Linked DNA regions of Homo sapiens: region 1 is linked to region 2. Evidence: promoter capture Hi-C in 16 types of primary human blood cells and fetal thymus (Javierre and others, 2016). All regions are on one chromosome and are shown on one strand. The core of a region is centred on a gene start or on the middle of the fragment in contact, and the rest is flanking DNA. Distances in the headings are between cores, read along the strand shown. Region 1 holds the start of RPP25 (ribonuclease P/MRP subunit p25). Region 2 holds the start of ARID3B (AT-rich interaction domain 3B).

Region 1 (6,803 bases), core at 3,732-6,231, 410 kb before region 2:
CCCGCGGCTAATCACGATGTACATTTACATTTTAAGTGCTGCAGAGGGAGCGCGGGAAGGGGAGGGGACCGGCAGGAGGGAATGCGGCCCTTTTCGGCGTTCTCCCTTCACCGACTGTGGAGAGCAGTGAATGCGAGTCTTCTACATCCGACAGCAGTTTAGGAGGTTGGGGACGGCTGGGTCCTCGAGGGCCAACCTGGCCGGACGCAGAACCGCCCCGTCCTCGCCCTACACAAACCTGAAGCTCCCAGGACCCTTTCTCCAAATGACAGAACTCCGCCCAATCCCTTCCAAGTGATCGTGCAGCCCAAACTTGCATACTCCCGGGGACGGAGAGCTCGCTCCTTCCACAACCAGCCCGTTCCAACGTAACTTCCAGCCTTTCGGGGGCTTTTTCTCAGGGCCTGACCTTACACAGCCCTCGGTTCTCCACGCCCCGCTACGCGCTGCGGACAGTCTTTGTTTCTTCCCAAGGCTGCTGTGCCTCCAGCCCCCACCGCTGTGTGGGGCCCATGGAGACTGGACCGAGACCGAAGTCCCGGTTCGGAGCATACCCCGAGGGTTCCTGATCCCACCAGGAGACGGGGAGGGGGTCAGCCATTCACACATTGCGGTGCCAAGGTCCAGTCGCCGCAGCCACTCCCAGGAAGTGGTAAGAGGGTAAATCCCGGTTCTGAACAGCAGGGACCGAGGGCCGCTCCCAAGAAGTGACAAGGAAGTAAACCCTGGTTTTGAACAGCAGGGACTGAGAGCTGCTGCAGATGCCCAGAGGGCGAGAACAGCGGGAGGAGGGAGAACAGCATCTGGCAGCCCCATCTCCAACTGAGGCCCAGCAATCCAAGGCACTGTCATGCCCCCAGCACTTTCCCGGTGGCCCGCCCGCCCCAGCTCTCTGTGTCCCTCCCCGCCACGCCCCGTCACAGTCCCCTGGCTAGGACCAGATCTGCCGCCCTCTCTCAGTCCTGACTGCGTAGGGCGGGTGGAAGGAGGACGGGGGAATCCCGAGAGCAGTTTTAGGGAGGGTCGGGCCCCTTCTCAGACCCCCTCCCTTCCATCAGTAGTCCTGACAGCCCCCAATCTCATCTTTCTCTAATGCTTCTCTCACCCGGCAGGAGACCCCGGGCCTCTCTTTCGGTCCCGTGGAGTTTCCGCCGGAGAGGCATCCAGTAGTTCCATAATGCCCCCAGGGCTTCAACTCCCCATCTTCCTCCCTTCTTTCTCTCTTTTATTTTTTTTTAAGTCTTTTTAATTTTTGTGGGTATACAATAGGTGTCTATATTTAGAGGGTACATGAGACGTTTTGATACAGGCATGCAATGCATAATAATCACATCCTGGAGAATGGGGTATCCCTCCCTTCTCTTTTGTATTTTATTTAATTAATTAATTTATTCATTTTTCGAGACAGAGCTTTGCTCTGTCGCCCCGGCTGGAGTGCAGTGGCATGATCTCGGCTCACTGCAGCCTTCAGCTCCCGGGTTCAAGCGCTTGTCCTGCCTCAGCCTCCCGAGCAGCTAGGATTACAGGAGCGTGCCACAACGCCGAGCTGATTTTTGTACGTTTAATGGAGACGGGGTTTCACCATGTTGACCAGGCTGGTCTCGAACTCCTGACGTCAAGTAATCCGCCCACCTCTGCCTCCCAAAGTGCTGGGATTAAAAGCGTGAGACACCGCGCCCGGCCCCTCCCTTCTCTTTTTTAAAACCTGCGTTCACCTAGCCTCCTTTCGAAAAGGACCCCACTGGATCTCAAGGGGCCAATGTTGCCTGAGCGAATTCCGCCTGGGAGGAAGGGGGCGGCCACGTTGGCAAGGCATCGTGCCTGGCTCACCCTAAAGCGCGCAGCTCTAAGGGTGGGCTCTAGGGCCTGGGTGGAGCGAGCCTACCGCCTTTTCAGAAGAGGTCACGCCCGCTTCCCCACGCGCCTCGGGGAACAGCCTGGCCCAAAGCCTCACTCCTCACGTCCCAGGGGTGGACGGGGGTCCGGGAGCCTCGAGCTCCGGGCAGGCGTGGCGAGGCTGAAGTCTGGGTCTTCCGCGCCCCGCGAGGACCACGCCGCGACGTAATCGCCCGCGGGGAGGCGCGGAGTGGAGCCGCAGCCAGCTCCTCCCGCACTCTGCTGACCGCGCACTAGCTGTCCTTGAGGCAAGAATACTTGGGAGCGGAAAAAAGGTGGGGGTGTTCCCCGGGGCGGGGGAGGAGGGGCAAGGCCCCAGCAAGCCTCTTGGAAATCTCTCCCTGGGAGGGGACGAGGGGCGGCCTTCAGTTGCAAATGGGAAGGGCTCGGATACCGGATTTGAAGCAGTGTTTGCACGGCAAGCGCAGCTTTTATTTAGACTGCCGGTTTGTGAGGGTTGGCTCTCAGAGCGCTGATGGCGATTATAGTGGAACTTCACCTTCACCTGCTCATGCGCCCCGCAGCGCGCCCGCTCCCACGCCCGCGTAGCTGAGGACCCAGACTCGCCAGGAAAGGCTAGTGAGGCTGGGGCCCGGGCGGGCCCGGCCGGGCCGGGTCAGGGGAGGGGCCTGGCGGCAGGGGCGGGGCCTCAGCTAAAGGCGCGGAGCACCCGGCGCCGAGAGCGCTGAGTAGAGCGGCGCCCGCTCGAGAGAAGTGGGGCCGAGATCGCGCCGTCCCAGCCCGCCCGCCGGCGTCTGCGCTGCTCCGGCGCCCTTACCCCTGCTGGCCCTTGCAAGGCGCGACCGGCGGCCATGCAGCCCCGGGGCTGAGGCCGCCCCATGGCAAAGCCGGCGGTCCCGGCGACGACGGCGCATGGAGAACTTCCGTAAGGTGCGCTCCGAAGAGGCGCCAGCGGGGTGCGGGGCCGAGGGAGGCGGCCCGGGCTCCGGCCCCTTCGCAGACCTGGCGCCGGGCGCGGTGCACATGCGGGTCAAGGAAGGCAGCAAGATCCGGAACCTGATGGCCTTCGCCACCGCCAGCATGGCGCAGCCAGCCACGCGCGCCATCGTCTTCAGCGGCTGCGGCCGGGCCACCACCAAAACCGTCACGTGCGCCGAGATCCTCAAGCGCCGCCTGGCGGGCCTGCACCAGGTCACGCGGCTGCGCTACCGGAGCGTACGCGAGGTGTGGCAGAGCCTCCCGCCTGGGCCCACGCAGGGTCAGACGCCTGGCGAGCCGGCCGCTAGTCTCAGCGTACTTAAGAACGTGCCCGGCCTCGCCATCCTACTTTCCAAGGACGCGCTGGATCCGCGACAGCCCGGCTACCAGCCCCCGAATCCCCATCCTGGTCCCTCGTCCCCGCCAGCCGCGCCAGCGTCCAAGAGGAGCCTAGGGGAACCCGCAGCTGGAGAAGGCTCCGCGAAGCGATCGCAACCCGAGCCAGGGGTTGCGGACGAGGATCAGACGGCCTGAAACTCCGGACTGTGGGCCACCTAGTCCGGCAGGATCTTCCGCCAGCGCCTCCACCTTCAGATGTACCTCCAGCCTTTCACTCCTCGGTCCTCCGGAGCCCACAACCTGGACACAGCTCCTCAAGACAGGTAGCATGGACCTTAAGGCGACAAGAGAGGGGCCCCAGGAGTGGCAGGAGAGGATCCCCGACCACCCTAGGGAAACTTCGTGCGATAATTGCTGCTTATGCCCGTGTTGCGTGAAGACACGGAACTTCACCTTTTCTGGGACCTTCTTTGGGGGAGAATGGTGGACAGTGGGATTCTGGAAACTTGTTTGGGACCCCCAAGGGTTAAAGCCACCCAGCATTCACGAAGAGCACCTGAAGTATGGAAGCTGAGAAGAGTTATTGGAATCACCCCCACCGTTGACAGAGGAAGGCAGGGGGTGAGAATTAACTGCTTGAGGGTAGGAGAGTCTGAGATGTGGGGGCCCTATTCCGCTCCCCGCCCTGGGACAGTTTTCCTTTCTAGTTTTCTTTCCCCTGCTTCAGAGGAGCATCTCTGAGGGTTCTAGCTCTTTTAACACCCCTTTTCCCCCTGCTGGCCCAGAGGGAGACCCAGGACTGAACTCTCCAGGCCTCCTCCCCTGAGCCCTGCAGCTGGCTGGAGTCTTGCTTCCAATAAAACAAGCACAAAAATGGCTGTGTCCCCCATTTTTTTTCTAACCACCCGCCTGTGCAGAGACAGCTCTCGCCTGGCCCCTTGTGTCTCCCCTCCCCTCCAGCCTTGCGTCCTGAGTCTTTGGAGTCTTCAGGGTCAGGCACAGAGACTGAACAGCTTCAAAATGGTGCAAGGCACTGCCCAGTCCCTGGCTTCTTCCTCTCTCCTCCCCCACTCCGCCCTCCCGGGCTGGCCCTGGCCTCAGAGGCTGTTGCAAATGGGGGCCCGTGTACCCCTGTACATCGCCACTAAGGGAAAGGGAGCGGCACATTGTTTTTCTGGGAGGGGAAGGAAGGAGTGGAAGGACAGCATCGATGAACTCTCCTGGAGGTCACTGCAAAGGGTGGCAGACCCTGCTGAGGTCCCTGAATCTGCAGCCTCCAGACAATAAACTGAACCTTACCCAGAAGGCTGGCACAAAGCCCCCAGCTCTGTGGGTAGGATCTCCCCTTCACTGCCCTCTCTCTGAGAAAGGACAGCACACCCTTGGGAAAGGGGGAGGAGAGAGACTGAGCACAAATCCACTGCTGGAAATTACTATTCAGCAGAGAAGCTGGGTCTTGGGCTGTGAATCACTGCAGGCCTCCTGATAAGCTGCTGCCTCCAGCCCTGCACAGCTGTCTGTTGAGAGATAACAGCCTCATAAGCTTCTCTGCCCAACTCCAAGCCAGCTGGGGGGTGGGGGTGCTGCTGTGTGCTGGAAGAGCTCTGGTGAGTTGGGGGTGGCATACAGCCCCAGGATCTCAGAAGCAGATCTCATCCCATGCAACTCAGCAGCACCCCTGGAAAGGGGGAGATGCGGAAGAATGTATTTATAAGTCATTTTGCTGGCAGAACCCTGAAATAAATCCTGCTGGTGACAAGAGATACGTTCTGTGGCTGACTGGAGGGGCTCTTAGGGAGGTTTCCCTCCCCTGCAGTATCTCTGCTTGAGCTTTGGAGTGAGCTTTGTCATCCAGACTTTGTCCCTCGTTGCTCTCCCCAAATTCCTGCTCTTGATGAGTCCCTGGAGAGGGCCAAGGGGTTTGGGTTTGCTTGTCTGACCCTCTCAGGGGTGGCCCAAGAAGCATGGAAAGAATGTAAACTGTCCTGACAAGATGGCCTAGCTTCTCCTGGACTTCAGCATCTAAAGGCAGTGATAAAACTTGGACAAGGTCCTGCATGGTAGAAGCTTAAGGGAGACTGGTCTTGGTTCTGAAAAGGGTCCAACTTTCCAAGACAACAAGTGACTGATAGCCGGGTTACCAGGACTATGAAAGCAGGGCCTGAGGCCGGGCATGGTGGTTCATGCCTGTAATCCTGTAATCCCAGCACTTTGGGGGGCCAAGGCGGGCAAATCACGAGGTCAGGAGCTTGAGACCAGCCTGGCCAACATGGTGAAACCCCGTCTCCACTAAAAATACAAAAATTAGTCAGGCATGGTGGCGGGCGCCTGTAATCCCAGCTACTCAGGAGGCTGAGGCAGGAGAATCGCTTGAACCTGGGAGGCGGAGGTTGCAGTGAGCCGAGATTGCATCACTGCACTCCAGCCTGGGCGACAGTGTGAGACTCCGTCTCGAAAAAAAAAAAAAGAAAGCAGGGTCTGCTAGTCTTGTCACGGAGATAAGGCTGCAATGGATTTTTTTTTATTATTTTTTTTGAAACGGAGTATCTCTCTGTCGCCCGGGCTGGAGTGCTGTGGTGCGATCTCGGCTCACTGCAACCTCTGCCTCCTGGGTTCAAGCGATTCTCCTGCCTCAGCCTCCTGAGTAGCTGGGATTACAGGCGTGTATCCCCACACTCGGCTAGTTTTTGTATTTTTAGTAGAGAAGGGGTCTCACCATGTTGGCCAGGCTGGTCTCAAACACCTGATCTCAGGTGATCCACCCGCCTCGGCCTCCCACAGTGCTGGGATTACAGGCATGAGCCACCACACCCGGCCTCTCTTTTTTATTTTTTTTATTTTAATTATTATTATTATTATTTTGAGAAGGAGTCTTGCTCTGTCACTAGGCTGGAGTGCAGTGGTGCAATCTCAGCTCACTGCAACCTCCACCTCCTGGGTTTAAGCGATTCTTCTGCCTCAGCCTCCCAAGTAGCTGGGATTACAGGCATGTGCCACCACGCCCAGCTAATTTTTGTATTTTTAGTAGAGACGGCATTTCACCATGTTGGCCAGGATGGTCTCAATCTCTTGACCTTGTGATCCACCTGCCTTGGCTTCCCAAAGTGCTGGGATTAGAGGTGTGAGCCACCACGATTTTATATATATATATATTTTTTCGCCCGGCTGTAGTGCAATGGCACAATCTCAGCTCACCGCAACCTCTGCCTCCCAGGTTCAAGTGATTCTCCTGCCTCAGCCTCCGGAGTAGCTGGGATTATAGGTGTGCACTACCACGCCCGGCTAATTTTTTTATTATTAGTAGAGATGGGGTTTCACCATGTTGGCCAGGCTGGTCTCAAACTCCTGACCTCAGGTGATCCACCCGCCTCAGCCTCCTGGAGTGCTGGGATTACAGGCATGAGTCACTGCTCCCGGACTCTTTTTATTTTTTTATTTTATTTTTTATTTTGAGACGGAGTCTCACTCTGTTGCCCAGGCTGGAGTGCAGTGGCACAGTCTTGGCTCACTGCCGCCTCCGCCTCCCAGGTTCAAGCAATCCTCCAGCCTTAGCCTCCTGAGTAGCTGGGATTACAGTCGTGGGCAACCATGAGCAGCTAATTTTTGTATTTTTATTAGAAACGGGGTTT
Region 2 (6,685 bases), core at 2,846-5,345:
AGAGTGAAATGAAATCATGTCTACAAGGCTCTTTGTTGGAAAATATATACAATGCAAGTGCTTCTTGTCAGCTGTGTTTAGCTCCAAAACAACCAACTGTCCTTAAAGAGGGTTAGCCTGGAGCTAAGAAACTGTCTTAGGCAAGAACTTTCTTTTACATTACTGTTAGAAACATTATTATTAGAAAAGCTGTAATTAGTCACACATCTCATTTTAGATATTCCTCACAACACTGTTGCAACTTCATCCTTCCTTTAAAAAAGAAGATTGTATTGACATTCTTTCACATCAAACTTGGCAAAACCTATATTAAGAGTAACATACAGGCCAGGGGCGGTGGCTCATGCCTGTAATCCCAACATTTTGGGAGGCCGAGGCAGGCAGATCACGGGGTCAGGAGATCGAGACCATCTTGGCTAACACGGTGAAACCCCGTCTCTGCTAAAAATGCAAAAAATAAGCCAGGCATAGTGGCACGCGCCTATAGTCCCAGCTACTCAGGAGACTGAGGCAGGAGAATCGCTTGAACCTGGGAGATGGAGGTTGCAGTGAGCCGAGATCATGCCACTGCACTCCAGCTTGGGTGACAGAGTGAGACTCCATGTCAAAAAAAAAAAAAAAAAAAGAGTAACATATATTTCATTGCTTTAATGAAGAAAATAAATATTAAATAAGAAAAAAATCCAAAGTCTATTCATGTCTAGGCTGTTGGTCACCGAAGTGGGGTGAGAAGGCACAGACTGGCACAGCCCCTGACCCTGTCAGTCCATGACCCCTCTCTGGCCTTCAGGAAGACCAAATGACCTACAATACCAGAAAGACTGACCTGCTTGAGCTGCTCATCCAGATTCCAGTTCGGCTGTCCTGCTGTGGAGACAGAAGGTGAGGCCTTGGAAGCATCTTTGGTATGGTCTTCTTTAGCTTGTTGTCCATGTGGTGGGAGCCCTGGTGCTGGAAGTAGATTGGACATGGGTGCCACTCTGGGATCTTGGCGAGCTACTTTCTGCACATGAAAATATTTTGAAGCAGCCTGGGTTTCTTTCTCAGCCACCTCTGCAACTTCATCATCCCCATCCTCATCTTCCAAACCTCCGTCCTCTTCCTCAGGCTCTGAGTTCATGTTGCCCCGTTCAAACACTTGGGCCACTGCTGCGGTGGGTGGAACTCTGGCTAAGGGACCTAAGGGAGTGCTGCCAGAAGGTCTCCCAGCTGTGGCGGAAAGGAGAGTCGGCTGTGTGACCAGCTTTTGGGCATACAAGAACTGGGCTTCTCTCATCTGCTGGCCCTGCTTCTCTCTGGCATCCATCTGCAGAGGAGCCAGGTGTGGCTGCTTCTGTTGTTGCTGCTGCTGCTGCTGCTGCTGCTGAAGTGGCTCCATTTTTGCCTCAAGCTTCACCCACAGAGTGGCATGACTCTGAACCTGGGCACAGCCCACCAGGCACACTGGGTCTAAACCTTAGTGATTAACAGAAACCACAAAGAAGGAGGGGGAAAAAACAACCATGTTAAGCAGGTATAAAAAGGTTTCCTTTTCTCCAGTAGAGGGCCATGAGTTCCGAACGCTAAACATATGCTCCTAAACCTGAGTTTTAAGATGAGTGAGTGGTGGGGGTTTCGTGGGTGGGTAGGAAAAGGTGTGAAGAAGAGAAACAGGATCTAAGAGGGGAAATAGGGAATGAATTTCAGTAGTAGTAGCAGGCTTTAAAAGAAGTACATCCAGCCAATATCTAGTCTGCTAACGTGTTCTGATCTCTCTTCCTCTACATTATCAAACATTAATCTGTTACTGAACTAATGTTACTGAACATTAATTACTGAAAAGGTAACTGGGTTTGCACTGTAGCAGAAGCATAATTATGCAAACAACAATAATAAAGGAAAAGAAGGACCTGCCTGCAAAGGAGAGAGTATGTTCCCAAGCCCACAGGAGAAAGATATCACCTCTAAGCTAGACACAGAACTATCAGGCAGACAGTTTTACTCTCATAGAAAAAGCAAGACCAAGCAAGCTGCTCTTGGGTCTAAGCTTTTCAAATTTCCCTGATCAAATTGCCAGCCTGCTTGTTGAGTGGACTGAGCCATACTAACTGGACATTATAGCCTCAAAAAGAATCCAATTTCAACAACATGAAAGAAACACGCAAGGAGGCAAGAGTCTCAAATTGCAATCGTCACTCAAAAGCAAACGGGGGAATTCCTCTGGAGATTTTAAAGTTAATTAATTTGAAACAGATATCAACATTGTCTGAACAACAAGTTAATGCTGCTTCTTTTTTATAAACAGCGAAGTAAATCTCTTCACATCCCCTTTCTTTCTGATTCATTTCTATTATGATATTCTCTGACAAACACAAAAAGAAAAGTCTTTCGGGCCAAAAGCATTCTGGGGGCAGGTTTATCTGCATTCTTACCAATCAGTCTCCAAACACACATCACTTTCACACCCTCTTCTCCTTTTACTCCCCCACCTCTCCCCTGCAGGCCCTCACCCCCAACAAACTTCACTTGAGTTATGTTTCTTCAGCAAGTCTCCATAACTGAATGGATTACTATGCAAGGGCAATTTTAGGTGAACAGGACTTGCAACATGGCGTACAATTTTGTCATCACATGAAAGAAGCTGCACTGCACATGTTGGGACTTGATATCTGCATTGTTCCAGTGTTTTAGGATTGGGTCGAAAGACAAAAAACAAAGTGTCTTTAGTATCTTCAAAAATTCACGGAGAAGTAATCACATCTTCAGCAATAAAAACTGCTTGGATTTAAGATTTTTTCCAGGTTAGAGTAAAAAAGGGTACAATTTTTAAAGCTAGGCCAATTAGTAGAGATTAAAAATTCTCATTTTCTGTTTATCTTATAGCCCTGTTTGTGCCTTTTGTGTTCTGTGAAAGATTCGCATTCCAATTTGCCTCTTACTGCCTTTACTTCCTCTCTTGGCACTTCAGAAAGTGTGAGTTACGCTTGCAGCAATACTTTCATTCTGCTTTAGCTCTTCTTACAGTGTAAAAAAGCATGACAAGATTTACATCCACATTAAATTCAGTTGGCAAAAGTGTTCATTTAAAATGAAAACAATTTGGGTCAAAGAAAATTACAGAATAAAGCAAATAATTCGGTGTTCATTTTAAATGTCCTCATAGTCATTACAGTCAATCAATCACGATCGGAATAACTTCTCAACCAAGTCCTGCCAGTCACTGAACAACTGCTTCTTGTCTTGTGGCACCATCTTCTCTGAATGCTGTCCCCAGCAGAGGGGGAGGTGTCCCTCCCACAGCCTCTTATAGTAAGACTGAGATGACTCAGTTCTACAACTCAATACACACACCCTCCCCCAAAGAGCCCATTTTCCCGCAGTCCCTAAGCAGCCAGCGATCCAAACAATGCCACCTGCCTACATTTGGAGAACTTATGTCTCAAATCTAAACCTCTTCATCCCTTCACACGGGCCCCTCCCCCATTTCCCCTAAAGTTCCCGGACCACCAAGCCGGGTACAACGGACTACCTGCAGCTTTGAACCCGGCCTGCTGACCATTCCCCTGCTTTTGCTGCCGGATTCTTTTGGCCCCGGGCCCCTGTAAGCCCCACAGCCCACCTTCCCGGTCACCCCTGCACGCCTCCCCCCATTCTTTATTCACCTCCCCCCATTCAGCCCTATCATTTTTACCTCTACCAACCCTCCCAGCCAATCCGCTGGCTCTTCCGATGGCCCCCGCCCCACCTATCTGCGCGCCCACTCAGCTCCAGGGCCCCTCACCCTTCTCATCGCTTTATCTCAAACGCTTTATCTCAAATGCCCTAATGGGCACAGGGCGCTCGGGGCTCCCGCGGCGCTCTCACTTTCCTTCGCGGTCCCCGCGCCCCCGACTCGCGCATTCCCCTCTCTCTCTACACCTGCCTCGGCTCCTGGCCTCGGCCCCTCCACCTGTCGCAGCCTCCTCTCCCGCCATGCCTGAGGGAGCCCGGACCCGGGCCACTTACCTGTGCGGGGCACTCCGGGTTTTCGGGCGGCGGAGGAGGCGGCAGCTCAGGCCCCGGCGCGGCAGCTGCGTCTCGGACTCCTCCGCAGCCGGGGGCCACAGCCGGGGCGGGGCCCGCACCGGAAGCGGCGCCGCGGGGCTGGACCGCCAGCCAGGGGCGGGGGCGGGGGCGGGGCGGGGCCACAGGGGGCGGGGCGGGACCGAAGCCGGAAGCTGCTAGAAAGGGACCGGGGGGCGGGGTGGGACGAGGCGGAAGTGACTCCTACGGACCGCGCAGCCCGACTGAGTTGTGGGAGGAAGCGAATGGAAGCGGGCGGAAGCCTCGGCCAATGGCAAAGTGCGGACACAGAGGGGTTCCGGTGTGAGCACTTCCGCGGGGAGTTGAAAAGAGCTGGGCGGGAGATCGTGTTCTCCGAGCGTTTTCTATTGCGGAGGTTGGTGTGGCTTGGGCGGTTGGCTGGGAGGAAAGTAACTAAAGAGCAGAGGAGTGTAGGGTTTGCCGTCGCTTCGGTCCCCTCCTCAATCTCCTGCCTTCAAGCCGGTCTTCCTCAGAGGTTCTCGTGTTTAGATCAGCTTGTCTCTAAACTTCTCCGCTCCTTCCTGGGACAGAGACCTGGCTGTCCCGAGAATGTTGCGTCCCTTGAAACTTTCTCACATGAATTAGTATTCTCAGGTCTCAGTTTGCAGAGGTCGGGATTATGTGCCAGGTGCTGTCACCTCTTGTAAAAACACTTGCTTCTTCAGCCCTTCCCCTTAGACTCTGTCACCTACTTCACCCCGTTTGGAGATAATCTGCCGATCTGTGTATCCAGCTCCTTGTCTGTCTCCCGTCTGACCATCTTTGATAATTTCAGAGCCTATGTGGCCAACCCATTCAACATCGGGCCTCGTCTTTAGCGACCCTTATATCAGCCTCCCAATCCCAGTTAAAACCTGGACCTTGTCCCTCCAAACGCTATCGCGTCACGACTCAGTAATTTGAACAACCCTCTTTTCAACCACAGCCTGCTATTCTCTCAGCTTGACTACTTTTGAATTATAGGCCTGATGCAGTAGCTCACGCCTGTAATTTCAGCACTTTGGAAGGCTGAGGCAGGCGAATCTCTTGGGCCCAGTAGTTGGAGAGCAGCCTGGGCAACAAGGCGATACCCCATCTCTACAAAAAATACAAAGTTTAATGAGGCGTTTTGGCGCATGCCTGTGGTCCCATCTACTCGGAAGGCTGAGGTGGGAGATCACCTGAGCCCAGGAGAGGCGGAGGTTGCAGTGAGCCATGATTGTGCCACTGCACTCCAGCCTGGGTGACAGAGACACTGTTCCCCCCCCCCAAAAAAAATAGAATTACAGCATAACTGTTATTACTGTTATTTCACTTTTTTTTTTTAGAAGGAGTCTTGCTCTGTCGCCCAGGCTGGAGTGCAGTGGCGCAACCTCAGCTCACTGCAACCTCCGCCTCCTGGGTTCAAGCAATTCTACTGCCTCAGCCTCTCGAGTAGCTAGGATTACAGGTGTGCGCCACCAAGCCAGCTAATTTTTGCATTTTTAGTAGAGACAGGTTTCGCCATGTTGGCCAGGCTGGTCTCGAAGTCCTGAACTCAGGTGATCCGCTCGCCTCGGCCTCCCATAGTGCTGGGATTACAGGCGTAAGCCACTGCACCCGGCCTGTTCTTTCACTTTATCAGAGCAGAGCATCTAATCGGTTGAAAGCCTCTACTTTATCTCTTATACATTAATCCCCTCTTCACTTCCTTCCTTATCCATTTTAGATTCAGTGGTACATTAATACAGTCCTGCCCCTACTTAATCTTAATCCCACCACAACACTCCTTTTTCCCCAACGAAATCCCTCACCCTGGATGGACCTATGTGTTTCTCCTTGCTTGTACCTTGTCATAGAAAGTTGTCCTGTTGCTGGGCGTGGTGGCTCATGCCTGTAATCCCAACACTTTGGGAGGCCGAGGTGGGCGGATCACGAGGTCAGGAGTTAGAAACCAGCCTGGCCAATATGGTGAAACCCCGTCTCTACTAAAAATACAAAAATTAGCTGGGTGTGGTGGCGCATGCCTGTAGTCCCAGCTACTGGGGAGGCTGAGGCAGAAGAATCGCTTGAACCTGGACGGCGGAGGTTGCAGTTAGCCGAGATCACGCCACTGCACTCCAGTCTGGGTGACAGAGCAAGATTTCATCTCAAAAACAAAAAAATTGTCCTGTTGAGGCCGAGCACGATGGCTCATGCCTGTAATCCCAGCACTTTGGGAGTCCGAGGCGGGTGGATCACCTGAGGTCAGGAGTTTGAGACCAGCCTGACCAACATGGTGAAACCCTGTCTACTAAAAATACAAAAATTAGCCGGGCGTGGTGGTGAAGACCTGTAATCCCTGCTACTCCAGAGGCTGAGGCAGGAGAGCTTGAACCTGAGAGGAGAGGTTGCAGTGAGCTGAGATTGCATCATTGCACTCCAGCCTGGGCAACAAGAGCAAAGCTCCACCTCAAAAAAAGAAAAAGTGTCCTGCTGAACAGATTGGCGTCACTACATTAATAAAGACCAACTTTAAATGGACTGTGGGTCAGGTGCGGCGGCTCACACCTGTAATCCCAGCACTTGGGAGGCTGAGGTGGGTGGATCATGAGGTCAGGAGTTCGAGACCAGCCTGGCCAACATTGTGAAACCCCGTCTCTATTAAAAATACAAAAATTAGCTG

What was found. The method cuts DNA at HindIII sites, captures the fragments that hold promoters and counts their contacts. A CHiCAGO score of 5 or more calls a contact.
Region 1: a contact is called between a fragment that was not itself captured here and the fragment with the promoter of ARID3B in region 2, in 1 of 17 cell types (non-activated CD4 T cells). The highest score is 5.6, in non-activated CD4 T cells.

What each region holds. Positions count from the first base shown.
Region 1 is chr15:74,952,550-74,959,352 of GRCh38, reverse strand. It overlaps RPP25 (ribonuclease P/MRP subunit p25), which reads left to right and starts at 2,581. Exons shown (of 1, transcript NM_017793.3): 1 at 2,581-4,935. The coding sequence starts at 2,770. The coding sequence ends at 3,369. RefSeq lists enhancers at 413-969, 1,964-2,897, 2,898-3,831, 3,832-4,765 and a silencer at 2,289-2,938. The HindIII fragment of the contact is 524 bases long and covers 4,720-5,243 here.
Region 2 is chr15:74,538,630-74,545,314 of GRCh38, reverse strand. It overlaps ARID3B (AT-rich interaction domain 3B), which reads right to left and starts at 4,095. Exons shown (of 9, transcript NM_006465.4): 1 at 3,985-4,095; 2 at 827-1,455. The coding sequence starts at 1,378. It overlaps LOC124903528 (a long non-coding RNA gene), which reads left to right and starts at 4,227. Exons shown (of 2, transcript XR_007064719.1): 1 at 4,227-4,417. RefSeq lists enhancers at 3,100-3,159, 4,510-4,659, 4,234-4,775, 4,710-4,839 and silencers at 3,149-3,333, 3,850-4,209. The HindIII fragment of the contact is 12,648 bases long and covers 2,029-6,685 here.